Linked DNA regions of Homo sapiens: region 1 is linked to region 2. Evidence: promoter capture Hi-C in 16 types of primary human blood cells and fetal thymus (Javierre and others, 2016). All regions are on one chromosome and are shown on one strand. Each heading gives the region's core, a stretch centred on a gene start or on the middle of the fragment in contact. The rest is flanking DNA. Distances are from core to core; before and after follow the strand shown.

The links. The method cuts DNA at HindIII sites, captures the fragments that hold promoters and counts their contacts. A CHiCAGO score of 5 or more calls a contact.
Region 1: a fragment that was not itself captured here is called in contact with the fragment with the promoter of LRRFIP1 in region 2 in 3 of 17 cell types (total B cells, naive B cells and monocytes); the score reaches 9.1 in total B cells.

The regions. Positions count from the first base shown.
Region 1 is chr2:237,726,930-237,729,649 of GRCh38, forward strand. It overlaps LRRFIP1 (LRR binding FLII interacting protein 1), which reads left to right. Exons shown (of 24, transcript NM_001137550.2): 8 at 947-1,006. Among named protein-coding and RNA genes, the nearest start is that of RBM44, 70 kb to the right of the region's middle. The HindIII fragment of the contact is 630 bases long and covers 1,056-1,685 here.
Region 2 is chr2:237,626,248-237,628,955 of GRCh38, forward strand. It overlaps LRRFIP1 (LRR binding FLII interacting protein 1), which reads left to right and starts at 1,340. Exons shown (of 24, transcript NM_001137550.2): 1 at 1,340-1,493. The coding sequence starts at 1,398. The HindIII fragment of the contact is 5,154 bases long and covers 1-2,325 here.

The sequences.
Region 1 (2,720 bases), core at 121-2,620, 100 kb after region 2:
CACATTATGAAATTATTAAATATGTGTTCAAATTTCATTTTGAAAAATAAAGTAGGAGGGCTGGATGAATAAAAAACTAGTATAGAGGATATACCCCACGATGAACTTTTGCGTTTAACTATAGATTGACTAGAAATAATTTCTGAGGCCGGGCGCGATGGCTCACGCCTGTAATCCCAGCACTTTGGGAGGCCAAGGCGGGCGGATCACGAGGTCAGGAGTTCGAGACCAGCCTGACCAACATGATGAAACCCCGTCTCTACTAAAAATGCAAAAATTAGCCGGGCGTGGTGACGCACGCCTGTAATCCCAGCTACTCAGGAGGCTGAGGCAGGAGAATCACTTGAACCAGGGAGGCAGAGGTTGCAGTGAGCTGAGCTCACACTACTGCATTCTAGCCTGGGCGACAGAGCGAGACTCTGTCTCAAAAAAAAAAAAAAAAAAGAAATGATCTCTGAATCTTCTGAATTATGGCCCATAGCATCACAATGTGCCATAATTTTCAAAGACCCTGAACCAGGAACTGAAAACTCATTGACTCAGGCTGAATCACTACCCATCGGCCTGGCATGTGGCTTCTTGCAAGCAGAATGTCCACAGAGCCACCATAAAACCAGAAACAGCCTGACAAGGAAATGGCCACACCAAGCCCAAATGTTCCACCCCGTGGAGGGACTTGGTGCCACTTTAAAACTAAGAGTGGCATGTGACATGAAGCCTACTGACTTGGTTAGCTTGACTGCTGTTCCCTCCTGAGCTGCGGGGGAGCAGACGGCGGCAGGGATGCAGTTTGGGAGCTGCCAGGACTTGTACTGTCCTGGACTGGTCATTCATCCGCTCCACAAGAAAGGTCACCTTATACCTGGCTGGTTGGTCCCTGCTGATTTGTACCTGTGAATTCATTTGTGTACTGATGTCAGTTTTTCTCTTTTCTTCATTGAAACAGACAAATGGTTATGATGGAGAATTGTATGGATCACAGTCCCTGAATAGAAGATCTGGCAGGGTTAGTATAGTAAATTTGCATGGCTCAAAATTCAAATAGGTTGTTTCAAAGCTTCTAGAACTAAAAACTAATTGCTAAATTTAAATTTAGCTTCTTTGCTGTTTTTAAATTTTAAAATCGGTCTGTCTTTTTTTTCCTAGCACATGATGGAATGAAAGATAATGTTTTTCAACTAGCAAACATTCTGAGAATGTTAGCCCTCCAACATTCTGATTGTTAGTATAAGGGGTAGATATTGATAAGAATCTCAAGTTTTAAAAGATCTGAAATTAAAGATTAACTCTTTCATTACTGTATTCCCCTGGGTGTATGTATATAATGTGTGTATTAAGTATATTCAGCTTTCAAAGATACTAAATCCAACATTTTCGCAGTCTCCACATCTGTCATTTGTAATTTTAATGTTTACCTTAAAGGCATGTGTACAAGCACCTGTGTTTTTCTGGAGAGGAAAAGGAGAATAAAACAATGCAGATGCTTGGAAGGCTCCCAGTTAAGGGGTGGGAGGCAGGAAGGAGCTGGTGGAAGGAAAGGGTGCTGCTCTAGGGGGAGAGAGAGGGAGTGGTGCCAGTGGCAGGGGCATTAGGGAGACCGGGCGGGGGTGGGGAGGGCTTTGGATTAATCAAGGACAGGAGGTCATTGGGGATTTTAGAAGGTTACACTGGATACATTTCCATTAAGCTTCACGATATCCCACAGGTCCATTCTGTGTGAAATGGTCTAAAAATTTCCTGTTCTCATGCTTCATTTTTTTCTTTTAGTAATATTCCTAATTGTGTAAAATAGTATTTCTTTTCATTTATCTTAATTATGTTATATTAAGATATCATGTGTATGCTTAAATTATACTTTTGGGCTTCAAATGAGTGACCCCACCCAGACCTTCTTCCCTCTCCCCGACCAAAGCCGTCTTTAGCTTTCTGAAACCAGCTGATCAAGTTGTTTTTACTTGCTCATTCCTATTTACCTATTTAGCATTGCATGCACTTTAATTATTTATTTTTTGAGACAAAGTCTCGTGCCCTCACCCAGGCTGGAGTGCAGTGGTGCTATCTCAGCTCACTGCAACCTCTGCCTCCTGGGTTCGAGCGATTCTCCTGCCTCAGCCTCCCAAGTAGCTTGGATTACAGGCATCCACTACCACACCTGGCTAATTTTTTTTGTATTTTTTAGTAGAGATGGAGTTTCACCCTGCTGGCCAGGCTGGTCTCGAACTCCTGACCTCAGGTGATCTGCGCACCTCGGCCTCCCAAAATGCTGGGATTACAGGCATGAGCCATGGCACCCGGCTGGATGCGACATTTTAAAAATGTATACTCAAGACACGTAAAGATGGCCTTCAGGGCATTTGCACTCTGTGGATAAGGGCTCTCCAGTGGACGGGTGGCAGCAGGCTGTCACACTCCACCCACCTTTCTGGCACCCCAGGGCTGAGCTATAGCCCGCAGGCGGGCTGGGCTGAAGAAAGATTGAAAATTTTGCAATAAATGGAATTTTAGTTACCCAAGGAGATAAGACAAGGAGTTTACTGACAACGCAGTGTGAAACTCAGTAATTACGAATCGTGCTAGGGATATGAGATTGTGAAAAGCAGTACTAGATACACCCCTGGCATCACCAAGACACAAACACTGAAGGTGAAAATACAGCTTAGAATCTCCAGTTGTTAAGAATCTCTGCTGTACTGTTTGTGCCTCGCGTCTTTAGATAAACT
Region 2 (2,708 bases), core at 90-2,589:
TTCAGTCATGAACAATGCCACAGTCAGCCCTGCCAACCCACCTGCGTCAGCTCAGGCACCCAGAGCAATGTCACCTGGATCTGCCCTCCCTCCCATGTCACTGGACTCGCTGTCTTTTCCCTGCAATGAAACCTCCAACAGCTTTCCCTGCCACTGTGGGTGGAAGGGCCCTCTTCCTCTTCCCACCTTCATACAGCTTCCAGGCCACCTCCTTAAGAATCCAAAGCAATCTGGTCACACCACTTGGTGGGAAATACACCGAAATGTTAACTGTCCTTATCACTGGGGGAAAAAAATCACAGGTGACTTCAGTACAGCCTCCTCTCCTCTACCATCACTACCCTCCCTCCCATCCTTCCCCAGGTCCAGCCACACTGAAGTTCTCCCCATACCCCAAACACACCAGTAACTTTCCCACCCGGTGCTCCTGCCGTGCCCTAGGCAGGGGCTTTTAACCCCTACCTAATCCTCCGATTTGCTTTACTTTTAAATCCACCTCTGGAGCATAGACTGTGAGCTTCAGAGAGCACAGGTAAGTTCATTACTTTTTCAACAACTAGGAGAGAGCTGCGACGCACCTGCCCCGATCCTAGAGGCTGGGGACCCACCAGAGAAGTGACAAGTCCTTGATCTCAGGGGGCAGACAGCGGGGAGAAGGATGGATGCTAGCACGGAGAACACGCGTGTAAAGACAGAAACGCACACATCCACACCATGCCGCTGTGAAGCCGGCGCCCAGGAGGCTGGCCAAGGTCACAGGAGCGGCGGTGGCGGGCGGATCCGAGCACCTCTCGGCCTGACCCCAGAGCCTAGCTCTCACCCCGGCGAGGGACTTCCACCCCGACTCACCGCGGAATGGGGAGCGCCAGGCTGAACCAAATCCTGTGCTCACCCCTCCGTGCAAACCCCTCAAGGCAACTCAGGCCTCTGAAAGCCTTCCTACCCCCCCGCTCTCCGCTCAGGTCCCCACTCAACCGGTGCCCACCGCCCTGGCGCGCGTCGCTCCGCGATTACCGGCCCGCCAAACAGTCCCCGCAAAGTCCACCCTCCGGGGCTCCCGGTCCCTCAGGTCCCGCGTGCCCGGCCCTGGGCATCCGCAGCGTCCCCGTGGTATCGGACCCCCATCGTCCCTGACACCTGGCGTCTCCGCCCCCCGCCCCCGTCCCCCGCCCCGCCGTCCCTGGCCCCTGCAGTCCCTGGCCCGCGCTGCGGACCTCCGGCTCTGGCTTCCCCCGGGTCCCCGCGGCCCCCGTCCCCCCGCGTCCCCGCGTCCCCGGCCCAGCGCCCGCTGACGCCATGACGCCGCGGCGGAGGGAGGGGCCGGGGCCGGGGCCGGGCCGGGGCGGCGCGAGCGGCTGGAGCAACGGGCCCCGCGGCAGCTGCGGGCGACGCGGTCGATGGACATGGGCACCCAGGGATCGGGGCGCAAGCGGCTCCCCAACCGGGAGCGGCTCACGGCGGAGGACGACGCGCTCAACCAGATCGCGCGGGAGGTGAGCGCTCCGGGAGGGCAGCCGGGGGGCGCCGGGCGGGCGCGGGGGCCGGACGGCTGTCAGGGTCTCTCCGGCGTCCGTCTGTCCCGCTGTGCGTCTGTGCCACTGCGCGTCCGGCTCCAGGCGGGTGGGCCGGGCAGGCGCGCGCCGGGGCGCTGATCCCCAGGCGCTGCGCCCCGGCCCCGATCTCCGAGGCCTGCGGACCCCGCACCCGTTCTCCAGCCCCGGGCCCAGCCCGCGACGCTGCGCGCCCTCCCCCACCCCGGCCACCGTCGGCCGCTGCGCCCTCGGGAGAGGAGCCGGGCGCCGCCAGCGCGCGAGGTGGCCCGGGCTGGCCGGGTGGGGGCGAGCGCCCCGCTTTGTTGTGCGGCATGGGAGGAGGCGGGGGCTTAGGCCCGACCTGGAGGCAGTGGACGGTCGCCGGAGGCCACATGGCCCTGCTGAAATGGCCGAGTCGCTCAGGTGACCATTTGTCATCCATCCATCGATGTCACTCAAGGTGCAGCTCAGAGATGAACTTGGGGATCACTGTGATTTTTCTTTCAGGACTGAGCCTGGAAACGGGTCCAGGCACACTGAAACGTCTTCATTAAAGTTTCCTGGACAGAGTTTATTGTAACTAAGATCATGTTTGGTGATGAACTTTACCTGTGACAAATTGAAGGCGCACTAGAATGGGTATTTGTACAAATGCCTTTTTTTTTTTCCTTCCGCAAGGATTCTACCTTAAGGCTAAAGAATGTACATGACATCCAGAAAGCCGTACAGGGACAGAGAGCAGCAGCTTGGGAAAAGGGGAGCCAATAGGTTGCGGCCCCAGGGGGACAAAGGAAGCTTAATTTTTGACTGTGTTCCCTTTGTACCATTTGAACTGTGTGCCAGGTGGGTGTATGAATGCAAAGAAAGTCTCTGCCTTGTAACCCGCCTTACAGGTTCTTTTCCGTGTTGGCTTTTCCACATGTGATTCTTCCCACAGGAAACACCTCCAAGCCATTTGGACTGTGGTGTCTGGCTGTATCCGTCAGATATTCTGGGGGATCTACTCTGTAACCAATCCTTAGGTGTTTGTAGTTGTAAATACCTGATTTTGCTCTTACGGACATGTGGCAGTCACTCAGTATTTGTTGACTACTGAGTGAATAAAGACTTCTGTTTTTCTCTGTATGATACAGAAAAGGGCTTTCCAGGCAAACCCTTATTCATTCCTGGAAGCCC